Regions from separate parts of the Homo sapiens genome. Here regions 2, 3 and 4 are each linked to region 1. Evidence: promoter capture Hi-C in human tissues and cell types (Jung and others, 2019). All regions are on one chromosome and are shown on one strand. Each heading gives the region's core, a stretch centred on a gene start or on the middle of the fragment in contact. The rest is flanking DNA. Distances are from core to core; before and after follow the strand shown.

Region 1 (3,661 bases), core at 981-3,480:
CCAAGGCCGGGAGTGGTGGCTCATGCCTGTAATCCCAGCATTTTGGGAGGCTGAGGCGGGCAGATCACCTGAGGTCGGGAGTTCGAGCCCAGCCTGACCAACATGGAGAAACCCCGTCTCTACCAAAAATACAAAATTAGCTGGGCATGGTGGTGCATGCCTGTAATCCCAGCTACTTGGGAGGCTGAGGCAGGAGAATCACTTGAACCCAGGAGGGGAAGGTTGCAGTGAGCCGAGATCTTGCCATTGCACTCCAGCCTGGGCAACAACAGCGAAACTCCATCTCAAAAACAAAAACAAAAACAAAAACTTCCCAAGCAATTCTGACAGCCAATTACAATGACATTTGGAAAGCCCTAGCCTAACTAACATAAATACAAAATAGGCCAATCACAAGCAATATAGAAATCGAGGATAATGAGAATGTCTCTAGCTAAAGGTTCTAGCCTAGCAAGAGCCTTGAAACATTTTAACCAAGATTCAACAAGAAACTTCAGTTCTTAGAGGCAGATTAGCCAGAAGGCCAGAATATGGCTTTGTCAGAAACTTGTCTGAAAGAATGGTAATCATTACCTTAAGGATAAAAAAAAAAAAAAAAGAAAAGAAACCCAGAGTTTAGCTAACAAATCAGGAAAGCAGCAGTTCTATGAAGGAAAACTAAAAAACTATGATGATACCACAATACATATCCTTGATGCAATTCCTCACTTTGACGTCCTCTGTATGACCCATACTTTCAGGCAACAAAGCAAAACTTTAATAAAAGAATAAGTAGTCGTGATACTGGAATTAAACATCTGCAGGAGTGTACCTATTTGCCCATAAACACTTAAATCTGTACTGTCAGTTATAATTCCCATCAGAATAATTTGTTTTTGCATTTTTTTAAAGTGTAAAGTTTTCCATGGGACACTAAACAATGTAAGAAAGTCCCTGTTACTGGTTTAATGGCGAGACAGAATACGGCCAAACTCTGGAGGGCCTTGAATAACCTAACTAACTAGTTTTACCACCACAAGGTGCAGAAATTACTAGGCTATCAGCTCAGTTAAGGTAAGAGAGTTATCTTTCATCTTCAAGTCTCTATAGGCTAGCACAGACCTGGCTTATTGTATATGTCCAATGAACTTAAGGATCCTGGATGCTTTATGTGTGAAATCATCCGAGCTGATTAACGGGGTGATTCTCTAGGCTTTTCTACTATTTTCCCAGTGTACGTGAATAAACGAATCAATAAAATGAACACTCTCAGCTTAGTGGCCAAGTTATATTTAGTGTTCCTCAAATGTGGTCCATAAACTACTTACACTGGAATCACCTGGAGCAACTATTTAGAATTGCAGTTTCCTAAAAATACCCCGAACTCTCCGAATCACAATCTCGGACAGGGCAGGGATTAGGAATCTGTATTTGTACAAGAGACTCTAAGTAATTGTTAGGCCCATTAAAATGTGAAAACGACTATATTAAGTCTTGGTTAACGAAGTATATCTGCATTTCCAATACATTTTGAGGAATGCAACTTTAGGGGTGCAGAACCAGTACTTCCTTTTGGGGTTCATCCACATGAACCCAACAAAAGCCTCCTGAGGGATCGATCAGATTACAGAAAACAGGTCTGCACGCCCAAGGGCAGGGTTTTATTGTGTAAGTACGGGATTTTTTTCCTCCCGTTGAGAACTACAACTGCCAAGTAGGCTACAAGAGTTCGTGCCAGGGCAAGTCCAAGCCCGAGATGCCCGAGATTCCTGTCCAGAGCTAATTCAATGGTCAGTCTCCCTTTCCCCTCCTTTTGTCTCTTGAATCACGAGCGTCGCAAAAAGCCTAATGTGCTTCCCCTCTCGCAGCGACCGCCTCAGCCTGGTCCCCACCCGGGCTGCAGTACCTGCCAGCAGCTTCTCCTTCAACCGATTCAGCAGCTCGGCTGAAGTGGGCCCTTTGGGCTTGTGCACGGCGAACACGCCGCTCAAGGACAGCAGCTTGGTAGCCAAAGCGGCCTTGGAGACCCTGGCTTCGGATCCGGTCCTGGCCGCGGCCGCAACCACCGCGGCTGCAGCCCTTGCTGACGGGGTCGCAGCCATTGCTGCGACCGTTCCTGCAGTTTCAAGGACAGGGGATGTGTCTGTTTTCAAAGACGGCGAAGACACCACCGCCGCCTCAGAAGCGGCCATACTTTTGTAGCCCAGACCTGTTTCATCGTGGAGGTGCACGCTGATGATGCAACAAGAGTGCGCCTGACAGGACCCTCTTCCTCATACCGCGAAGCTGCGCAGAACGGAGAGGTCGCACGGACTTGTGGGAATTGTAGTCCATGGCCTTCCCATATAGACCAAGAGCTTGCTGTGCCCTTGGACTTTAAATAGAAAATTTTAAATGTTGACTTTTCCTGAGGCTTGTGAAGATCCATGGCTTCCTGGGCTCACTGCTTCATTGATTGTATTGTGCTCTTACATTCAGGTTCAGAATTAGAAGACATCCAAATGTGAGCTCTATTAGAGCAAGGAACTTATGTACCACGTTAACTGAGACATTCCCAAATGCCTCACATGTTGTAGGCACTTAAATAAATATTTGAAAACGTATAAATAAGTATGAATTCTTCAAATTCCCCGAAGAAACCAAGCCAATGGTAAATCACTTGTGCTTATTTTGATGCTCTTCATGCACTCCTGTTCACCCTCCCCAAACCCCCACTGACCCCACTACAATTTTTAATAATTCTGATTTTGAATATCAGCTCTTCTGTGGGTTGAATTCCTTAGTACACTTTGTTTAGATATCAAAAGGTATTCTTGCAATTCATAAACTTTAAACCACTTCCCATTTGAGACCTTCTCCCTAAAAGTTATTCACTCCCTAACAAGATTGAGGAATATTGTTTTGATTCCAGCACAAGGCAGAGTGGAGAAAAATTACTTCTGCACCAGAAACATTAAATGCTATCATAACTATTGTGAGACAGATAAAGTTTGCCCTCATTGTTTTTTAGGTTTCTTTACAACCACTCTTTGTCCTCATCATACTCTTGGACTTTAATATCTAGTATTTTAGTGATGCCCCTTAGCTGCTCACAATCACCAGTTATGGGGTCCCATTTGAACTTGCACCCATTCGTGCAACAGACACATGGCAGAACAATTTATTAAAAGGAAAAAAAAATCTTTGAGGGAGTTTTTTCAGGGTGGAAAGCTGAAACTCCTAGAAGGAAGTCACTTACTCTTGTGGTCTATTATAAAAGCCTAAGCTAACTGAAAAGATTGGCATATCACAGGATTAGTGGACACCTGGCCCTGCTTCAAGATGTTAATTTTTCCACAAAGATGTTGTGACTTCAGAAGGGATGACTGCACCCAAAGGAGCATGGTGTCCATTAGCCTCAGGAAAGAGTTCTCTATTCTTGTGCCATGGAAGCAGAGAGCCAGGGACTTGCAGGGAAGGTTGCAAGGCTTGATCAATGATGACTTGGATGACTCCAAGGCACTTGGAGATTAGAGGCCTTTTCCCAATTGTCCGGACATCAGCAAGCCTCCCTATTTCTCTTGTGGCTCTGGGGGTGAGGGATGCAGAGGGAGAACAGAACTAGGGGTAACATATGATGCTTATATTTGAATTTTCCATCAGCCCAGTGTAGGACCAGAGTTAATCTGATTTAAAGAAAATG
Region 2 (3,344 bases), core at 162-2,661, 130 kb before region 1:
AACCAGAGTTCTTCCTAAGTACAGCTGTGCCCTCAGTTCCTTCTTGTCTTCTCACACACAACCTGGATACACAGTACTAACCTCAAATCCATCATAAATCACATCTACATCTTCCTCAACTTGATAAACCATCCCTTTGGGAAATAGCATGAAAGGGCTAGTAAATTAATCTGCTTGAGGTAACTCATGACTGATCCTGCCTTAATGTGCTACCTTTCCCAGGAAATCATGCATCTTCATACAACAACTACTGCTACTACTACTACCAATAATAATAACAACAACAACAATAATAGCATTGAGTGGCAGGTACTGTGCTAAGCACATTATACACATTAACTCATTTAATCCTTATAACAACCCTAAGGTTCCCATTTTATAGGTAAGGGGACTGACATGTGGTAGTGAAGGGACTCTTCAACCAAAGAAATAATCCCCAATAGTATATTTTCAGGAACGGTATCCAGGAGTTATATGCACATCCATCCTTAAACCTATGTTACCACCCCATATATAGCTCTTCATGTGAAATCAGCCGGGGTAAGGAGTAGCGCTGGTCAGCGAATCTAATATTTTGCTTTTTATCGGGAGACTTGAGGGTTAAGAGAGGCCACAGTTCAGCATTTGCCAGTTAAGAAGGAAAGTCATATATTATTCGTTCAAAACAAGCAAGGAGCAGGCTGGAAGCCAAGGAACTCTGGCCAAAAGAGACTGAGGCAAGAGAATATTCATCATCAACTCTGATCCATACAGTGAACACATGGTTGAATTACTCCCCAGGGGAAAGGAGTCAATGACATTGGGAATATGGTTCAGTGAGATAAGCCAGTGTTTTCTAGTCAAGCCCCTTGCAAGACTGATCTTTACCAAGCTTAGGAGTAAGACAAGCTCCTTTCCAGAGTTTCTGCCCTCCTATCCGTCCCTCCCTCCCTCCCTTCTTTCCTTCCTCCCTCCCTTCCTTCCTTCTTCCTTCCTTCTTTTCTGTCTTCCTGCCCTCTTGCCTTCCCTCCTTCCTTCCTTCCTTTCTTCCCTCCTTTCCTTCTTCCTTTCTTCCCTCCTTTCCTTCTTCCTTTTCTTCTTTCCTTCTCTCCTTCCTTTCCTCTATAGATACTTAGTGATTCTCTGTGATATACTGAGATAAGATTCCTGCTTTTGGGAAGGTTAAAATTCACAGGAAAAACAGGCAATAAAGCCAACAATAACAATAGAGTATGGGATATGTGGTGATACTGTAGAAAAAGCATAAGCTTAGGAGCCAAATAGATTCAGCTCAGAATCACGACTCTGCCTCCTACAAATAGATACGATTTTTTTTTTTTTGCAAGTTATTTAACTATGTGTGCTTGGCCCAGCACAGTGGTTCATGCTTGTAATCCCAGCACTTTGGGAGTCCGAAGCAGGCAGATCATCAGGTCAGGAGTTCGAGATCAGCCTGGCCAACATAGTGAAACCCCATCTCTACTGAAAGTACAAAAATTAGCCAGGCATTGTGGCACATGCCTGTAGTCCCAGCTACTCGGGAGGCTGAGGCAGGAGAATGGCCTGAACCCAGGAGCAGAGGTTGCAGTGAGCCAAGATCGTGCTACTGTACTCCAGCCTGGGCAACAGAGCAAGACTCCGTCTCAAAAAAAAAAACAAACAAACGATGTGTGCCTGTGTTTCCTCATCTGTAGTATGAGGATAATGATCATATATATTTACTAGTGTTGTTGGGATGATCAAATTAGGTATATTTAATCATTGTGTAAAAAAGTTGACGTGTAAAATCCATGTAAAAAAGTTGGCAGAAGAGACAAACTGGTAAAGCAGCCGTTCTTCATTTCTCATTTCATTCAACAAGCATTATTAACAGCCTAGCAAGAACACAGTATCCAGGAAAAATCAAAGATTATCAAGCTCATGTTCTATAATCAAGCAATTTATAAACTAGCAGAAGAACAAGACAGATGAATAAGAAACTGTGTATATTTAAATGCTAAGAAGTTCAATTCAAATAAATGTCCATGGAGGACTAGTGTGGTCAGAAATGTTTTATAGAATTGATGGGTCTGAACCTGGGCTTTGAAAGTAAGATAAGATTGCTTCTCGGCATTTGGACTAAGATCAAGTGAAAGAAAGATAAGATGTGGTGAGGAGAAGGAAGGTAATCATGGCAAGGAAACAGCATGAGTAAGTACTGTTCTGGGATGAGGCAGACCAGTCTTGCTAGGGTTTGCTTCCTACTGGGAATCAGTAGGTCAGAAGGTTGGAAAGGATCACTGGGTCCTGTATGACAAGCTGGGGAGTATGAACTTGATCCTGAATTCAATGGGACACCATGAAGGTTTGCATTTTGGAGTACAGCACAGCGTTAGTGCTTTATGGGTAATATTGATTGCTCCATGCATGTAGGGTAGATTGCTGGGGACCAAATTCCAAGGGGTGGAAGTGGGGAGACCAGTTTGGTGACTACAGTTGTCCATACCTTGGGCCATGGAGACCTGAATATGGCTGCAGTAGTAAGGAAGACAAGGAAGCTGACTACAACAGGCTATTTTAAACTTTTTTAAAAACAGCGATAAAATATACATAACATAAAATTTACCATCTTAACCGTATCTAAGCATAGAGCTCAGTAGTGGTAAGTATATTCGCATTGTTGTGCCACCAATATCCACAACTTTTTCCTCTTGCAAAGCTAAAACTATAACCATTGAGCAATTTTCCATTTCCCTCTCCTCTCAGCCCCTGGCAATTGTCATTCTACTTTCTGTATAACAGACATTTCATATCATTTAGAACTCTTTAGATTTTTAAGAGCAAGACAACTTAAGCTAACACGCAAAGAGGGTGGCAAGGGATTTATTGTTGATTTACAAAACAGGATCAGAATGCTTCCAGACAGGAATGCGTCTGGGCCTCTGAACTGACTGGAATCTAAGCAGAAAGGTGTCAGACATCTCCGAGTGTCTGCTTCTCTCTGTGTGCTACTGCATTCCGTCTGTGCCGACCGGCTTCCTCTGCTTCTCTCTCTGCTTGATAGAATATTGCATCTCTCTAGCTCTGGGTTCATATGTTACAGTTCTAGCCACAAACAGAGACTACATAGCTGTTTCTGAATCTCAATTTGAGATTTCGAGAGCAAAAGAGAGAGATAGAGAATATTAATATGATTGGTCCAGCTCGTGGCAACTGTTCTAATCAGCTATTGTCTCAGAAATCAGCTATTGTCTCAGAAATCACAGTTCTAATCACTGTTCTAATCAGCTATTGTCTCAGAAAGAGTCATATAGAACATATATGGCTGCCGGGTGCAGTGGCTCACGCCTGTAATCCCAGCACTTTGGGAGGCCAAAGCGGGCAGA
Region 3 (3,192 bases), core at 458-2,957, 150 kb before region 1:
GACCTTTCCTCCATTCCATACAGGAAATCATTTGCTGGCACTTTTCTTCATAAAAGGCCAGGGGGCGGGGAGTTGCTGGGACTCTTTTTAAGAATACAGTTCTGTGAATTAAAATGAACAGAAGTTCAATTTGAATCAAGTAGCAAAAAAGAAAATGTCATACTATTTTATTTTCAGATGTCATAAATTTTCCCTAAGAGATAATTCTAATTTCTCAAGGTAACTCTTATTAGGAATCGCTGCATTGTGTTGTATCATCTTAAATCTAAATAAACCAATTTTAAGTGTCATTGAACATAAAGAGAAGCACTTTTGATTTTGAGAAACAGAAAGGATCGTTTTGGTTGTGAGAACATCCAACAACTGCTACAATAAGGCATCATTCACATGTAGATAAACCAGGTAAAAATTTCTATAATCCTTAAATTGAGGATTGTTTCATGTGCTCTCTGTTTAAAGAAAAAGTCAGTCACAGGAAGTACTTAAAAAACAAAAGCTTCCAAGCAAAATAAACAATTCATAAGAACAATAACATACTGGCTTTTAGAAAGCTGCTTGGGGTTCTGACACAGGAAAATACGTTTATGTTTACAAGGAAAGGAGCATGAAAGAGAATTATGGACCCTCTCAAAGGAGAGACAAAGCTATCAGGATGCAACAAGGTTTTCTTGAAGAGCTCAGAGACAAAAAGGAACCACAAAACAGCACACACATAAAAAAAGAAAAATATCTGACAAATGATAGCCAGGCCCCACAAATCCCGATAACACGACATTCCACTTATTAAAACCATCAGTCTTGGAAGACTTCAGGCACAGTAATTCTGAAAATGTACACAAGTAAATTAAAACCAGGCTTATGATTCTTCTCATTTTAAGTCCCTCACTTGTACCCCTCTGCAAAAGCTGATGTGAAATTTAAAATTAAATGAAAAAAAGTCAACATGAACCTTGCTGATTTTAAGCCAGAGCCCCAAGTTCTACATTTTTAAATTGGAACGTAGTCTAAAAGTCTCTCCGCACAGGAAATGGAAGCATACTTTCCTAGGAAAATTTGTTCCAGGGTAAACAGAAAATGCTATATCTACAATTAGGAAGCATGTGTGACAATTTTATTTATTAAGTTATCTGAACCACTTGGTAGCAGATATTTTAGGACATGTTTTATGGCCATGTTCTTTATTACTGGACACAATCCTTGATGGAGGTAGCAGGAGGTAGTGCCAAGAGAACTGGACAAAGAGCCAGCAGACCCAGTCTCAACAACCAAACAGGGCATGCCTCATTCACCCTGTTTCTTTATTCATAAAAGAGCAAAAAATATTGAGCATCCCTGAACATTGTTGGAAGAATCCAAAGTCCAAATAAGATAAGATGTCAAAATTATTTTAAAAACAGTGAAACCTTATTGAACTGTGTCAGCTTCGATTCCTTTCTCTGCACAAGGACCCAGTGGGGCCATGTAACACTGGTGAACCACAGAGCAAGCTCAATAATTCCTCTGCAGCTACAGCCCCATCGCCTGTCACTGGGGCAGGGAGTGGTGGGGGAGCAGCAACTTCACAGCCCATTGCTTTATGCCTAGGCAAGGTAACTGACCACCTGTGTAGGGTGACTGAAGTGACCATCGGAAGACCCCAGAGAACAAAATACACTGCCCCCACACTCTTGCTATAAACTTGGAACTCCAGCTAAGGATTCTGTCCTTTAGGCTAAAGGTTTAGGGGCACTTGTTCCATTGCGAAAGGCTTTGAAAGGCTAACACATTTTGTTTGTACCAGTTATTAACATCTTACCATGAATGACTTTGTACCTATTCTTGAGAGTAGTTTTCATAACGAATATAAGAAAAATATAAAGATATATCACTTCTACTGCCACCAACAACTCCCCCCAACCCAGCGCACACAGTGTGGACATTCTTTGTTACCTGGCCTCTTAGAGGAAACACTATCTGAGAATCACTAACATCCTCTAGTGATCTTAGCATAATATCTCATCCATGGAGGGAATGCTTATTTTTACAAGAATACCAAAAGAGGGAATGAACACAAAGGAGTTAAATACTAACGGTGAGATTTGAGACAGAGTGGCTCCTGGATGAAAGATTTGACATACATCTCAAGTCAGTTATGGTAGGTAGCTGCTTACATCCCCTAAGTGGAGGTCAAAACTAGCAGTGGAATTTTGGCATCTCTGACTACACAGCGAATGAATCTAAGGGGAGAATTAAAATGAAAGGTTAGGTCTTCACTGGGAAACACTCTTCCCAAACTCAAGTCTGGCAGATATCATCAGCAACAGTTCTGCTATTTTTAATGGCTAGGAGGGTGCTTAAGGAAATGTCAGTCTCTAAGATTATCCCAACTCTCCTCTGCATAAATAATAACATCATTACTGACAGATTCTTGGATCAACCGATCTTCTTTTAAACATGCAGACTAGTCAAAATGAAATACTTATTAGAGAAAGATTGGAAAGGGTAAAACTGAAAATGATCACTCAAAATTAGAAAAAAATTAGCCTCATTAAAAGGAGAAAAAATATGGGCATTCTGAGCTAGCCAGACACCAAAAATATGTATGAATAAACAGCAAAGCAGCAATACTGTGTTGGTAATATGGCCTTTGAGGATGCAATGACTCAAAGGAAACCACCAGAGAAGCCAGTGCTAACCCCCAGTTCATGCTCAGAGGCTTGTAGATCACCAGCAATCCTGGCAGGTCGACAATATTATACCAGCTGGGAACATTTCCTCTGGCTTATGCTCAGTGTATGCCCTGAAGTCTCAGGACTTTCTAATGCTCATTATTTTTGTTTTAATTCTGGTGCTGGAAACGCTATCCTCATTCCCATGAATGCTTAATCTTTCTGAATCATCCTAAACTATCTGTAGCAATTATCCTATGATTGAAGTTCTAAAGTTAATTAAGTTTGAAAAAAGACTCATGAGTTTTAAATTTTTCTGCCTTTTCATTTTATCAAGTGTATTTTTATTCCTTTATTATTAGAAAATGTAAATAAGCATCCAATCATCCTTCTCTTTAACATTTATTATTTTATAGCCCTTATCAGATTTCTACTGTTTTTCTCCCAACTTAAAAGTCCTAGTCATTCACCTTTGGGATCTATCTTGCCACTGTAATTTTTATGACCTCCTTTACACTACTTCTTGTCTAGCTCAGTCATTTTT
Region 4 (3,691 bases), core at 362-2,861, 190 kb before region 1:
TAATTGATTTAGAAAATACATTCTCAAATGCAAACAAGTTAAAAAGTAATCAACTCTTGATTTAACGCTTTAGTAATTATTATTACATCTACTAGGTTATGTTTGTGAAGCAACAAATGATTTTAAAATGAGACTCTCAAAACAATACAAACCCTATGACACCAGTCTTAAGTTATACATACATATTGTTCATTGTAATAAAATTATATAAAGGTGAGTATTACTAAAAATAGGTCTTTATAATAGATACAGCTAGTCTCTGAGCGCTCTCTGAAAAAGATAAAAAGAATAGGTCTGGGCCAGGCGCAGTGGCTCATGCCTGTAATCCCAGTACTTTGGAAGGTGGAGGCAGGCGGATAACGAGGTCAAGAGATCAGGAACATCCTGGCCAACACAGTGAAACCCCATTTCTACTAAAAATACAAAAAAATCAGGTGGGCACGGTGGTGCATGCCTGTAGTCTCAGCTACTCGGGAGGCTGAGGCAGGAGAATCGCTTGAACCTGGGAGGTGGAGGTTGCAGTGAGCCGAGATCACACCACTGCACTCCAGCCTGGTGACAGAGCGAGACTCCGTCTCAAAAAAACAAACAAACAAAAAAGAATAGATCTGTTTGGTTTTTTGTTTACAAGTATTTTAAAAACAATAAATAAAAGAGAGTTTCCACTTCCTGTATAATACACCAGGAAATTCGGACCAACTGAAATCTAGTAAAATGACAAATTATATAAAAACAAAAAAATCAGCTTGAAGGCCTGCCCAGGCATTGAGGTCATTTACCCTATTGGCATTTGCTGATTTCAAGGCTGGAGGTAAGATTTGAAGGGCTAAAAAAAACTCGGTGGTAATTTCAGGGATTTTACAGAATGAAGGAAAGAAAAAGTGAAACACAAGGCCTTCACGTTGAACTGGGACTCCAATGGTTGGAAGTGAAAGCAAACTACCTAAAGTTAGGCCCTCCAAAGGACTGCACTGCAGCTGAGCTATGAATCACCTCAGTATCTGAGTTTGGATTGAGTTGAATATGGATTGCGAGTGTCCCCAGGTAGTCTCTGCAAGAATATAATCTTTCTAGGCCTCAAATTATTACTATATATGATTTTCCAAACAACAACGTCCAACACACAATTGTCCAGCACACAGTAAAAAAAAAAAAAAATAACACTTCTCCATTCCAATGCATTCTCCACATTCTAAAAACTCTTGCCTACAGAATAAAAGCCCAACTTCTTTAGTGTGGTGTACAAGCAAGCAATATTACAGTGATTAAGGGATTAGGACCTATAATTACATAACCTTGATTCATATTCTGACTTACCAGCTAGGCAACCTTCGGGCCACTCACAGAAAATCTCTGTGTCTCAATTCTGCATTTGTAAAATTACAATATTAATACCTACCTAAAGGTTATTTTGAGGATTAAATAAACTAATGCATATAAAGAACTCCTGTACATTGGCACAAAATGAGCACTAAGTAAATGTCACTGATTGCTGTTTTGGGGTAATGTGACTCCTACGTATCCTTCACAGTTCCTACAATCAAGTTACTCAAAACTTTCAACTATTGCCCTAAAATATAATGCTCTTTAATGTGTCTATACCTTTGTATATATGCTTTTCTCTCCCTAGAATGTCCTATCTGACCCCCATACTTCATACTTTTACTCACGATGAAAGTCAACATGAAGGATTAGTTATTTATTTTGAAATTATATAGAACTCCTTCATAACCTGATTGTAACACTAACTAGGCTGTGTGAAAAATCTGTTTACATACCCCCACTAATGCATGACTACTGCATACTAAAGAATTTGGCTGGCTTTTGTCCCCAGTTCTTGGGACATAACCTCTAAATTCTTGAAATTTCCTGAGTGATGGGAGTGTCTTCCTATTCATGGTGAGCCCTGAAAATTTATGCCAATGAGGTGACTCATGGTGGGCCCCTAATTAATTTAAGCTAAAGATATAATTCAGAATAGGGGATGGCCACTCCAGAAACACTAACCATGTGATTAAAATGTTGGGGCCATATGGTATTAGCCTAACTTCCCGAGAGAGAAGGGGATGGGAGGGGCTGGAGATTTGAGTTCAGCCTCATGGCCAATGATTCAATCACTCATGGCTACATAATGAAACTTCAATAAAACTCTGGACACCTGAAGCTCAGATGAGCTTCCCTGTTGGTGATACATGTTGATGTGCTGGGTGGGTAACACATTCTGAGGACCCAGAAGCTTTGCATTTATGATCCTCCCAGACCTCACTCTATGCATCCCTTTATTTGGCTGGCTCTGATTTCTATCCTTCATGATAAAACTATAGTCATAAGTGTAGAACTTTCCTGAGTTCTATGATAATTCTAGTGAATTATCAAACTTTTAGGACAGAGTAGGAACCCCTAAATATGTAGCCAGATGGTCAGAGTAGGTGGGGAGCACCAAGCTTGCAGCTAGTGTCTGAAATGACAGCAGTGTTATAGAGCAGCAATCCCCAACCTTTTTGGAACCAGAGACCAGTTTCATGGAAGACAAAATTTCCACAGACCGGGGGAGGATGATTTTGGGATGATTCAAGCATATTACATTTATTATGCACTTTATTTCTATTATTATTACATTGTAATATGTAATCAAATAATTATACAACCCGCCATAATGTAGAATCAGTGGAAGCCCTGAACTTGATTTCCTGCAACTAGATGGTCCCATCTGGGGCTGATGGGAGACAGTGACAGACCATCAGGCATTAGAACCTCATAAGGAATGAGCAACCTAGATCCCTCACATGCACAGTTCACAGTAGGGTCTGTACTCCTATGACAATCTAATGCCGCTGCTGATCTGACAGAAGGTGGAGCTCAGGCAGTAATGCAAGCAGTGGGGAGCAGCTGTAAATAAAGATGAAGCTTTGCTCACTTGCCCGCCACTCACTTCCTACTGTGTAGCCCTGTTGCTAACAGGCCATGGACTGGTACGGGGATCTGGGGTGGAGAGGAGACCCTTGTTGTAGAGGACTGTGCTCTTAACCTAGGAAATCTGTTCTAGCCCAACTGCAGGTAGTTGGTGTCTAAAGCCACTGCGATAGCCTATGCCTTCTTCCTTACTATGTACTCTAAGCCTGTGACACAGTCTCTGTAATTAAATGTTGAGTAATAAATATTTATACAATTGAAGTAATTCAAACATATTAGATTCTGAATTCTTAGCAAGATGAAGTACAAACAGCATATGCTTTTAAATCAGGAGATTGAGATTCAAGTCCTAATCCTAGCTCTACCATCTATTAGAAGCAAATAACTTCTCTGAATGTCAATTTTCTCAACTGTAAAATGGGGATAATAGTACTTAGTACTCCCCCAACGAGATCTTTGTGAGGATTAGATGACATTTAAACTGCCTAGCCTAGTGCTTAACATCAAGTGGATATTCAATATCAATAAACATGAGTTTTCCATTTCCCTTAGGAGGGCTAACAAGAACACTTGCTAATGAGAAATCACTAATTCCATCTTCACAGCCATATACTAAATCTCACCTGCTAATTATCTTCCTTTAATAACAAGAAAATGTTGGTAAGAATGCTAATGGATGAGTATTAATACAAAGTAATTAGAATTACTAGACAAACAAATGAACAGGCACACATCTAAATGATGGTCAGTCAACGGTATCATAAAAATAGAGTAAAGA

What was found. The method cuts DNA at HindIII sites, captures the fragments that hold promoters and counts their contacts. A contact is called where the count stands out against the background at its distance.
Region 2: a contact is called between a fragment that was not itself captured here and the fragment with the promoter of TRUB1 in region 1, in 2 of the 25 tissues and cell types used here (aorta and mesenchymal stem cells).
Region 3: a fragment that was not itself captured here is called in contact with the fragment with the promoter of TRUB1 in region 1 in 2 of the 25 tissues and cell types used here (aorta and mesenchymal stem cells).
Region 4: a contact is called between a fragment that was not itself captured here and the fragment with the promoter of TRUB1 in region 1, in 2 of the 25 tissues and cell types used here (IMR-90 fibroblasts and mesenchymal stem cells).

The regions. Positions count from the first base shown.
Region 1 is chr10:114,936,764-114,940,424 of GRCh38, reverse strand. It overlaps TRUB1 (TruB pseudouridine synthase family member 1), which reads right to left and starts at 2,230. Exons shown (of 8, transcript NM_139169.5): 1 at 1,886-2,230. The coding sequence starts at 2,171. RefSeq lists an enhancer at 1,859-2,398. The HindIII fragment of the contact is 7,626 bases long and covers 1-3,661 here.
Region 2 is chr10:115,065,506-115,068,849 of GRCh38, reverse strand. No RefSeq gene overlaps it. Among named protein-coding and RNA genes, the nearest start is that of ATRNL1, 26 kb to the left of the region's middle. The HindIII fragment of the contact is 3,345 bases long and covers 1-3,083 here.
Region 3 is chr10:115,082,208-115,085,399 of GRCh38, reverse strand. All of the region lies in intron 1 of LOC105378496 (a long non-coding RNA gene), which reads left to right. Among named protein-coding and RNA genes, the nearest start is that of ATRNL1, 9.6 kb to the left of the region's middle. The HindIII fragment of the contact is 7,764 bases long and covers 1-3,192 here.
Region 4 is chr10:115,122,964-115,126,654 of GRCh38, reverse strand. The region is part of intron 3 of ATRNL1 (attractin like 1); the gene reads right to left. Among named protein-coding and RNA genes, the nearest start is that of ATRNL1, 31 kb to the right of the region's middle. The HindIII fragment of the contact is 3,762 bases long and covers 1-3,492 here.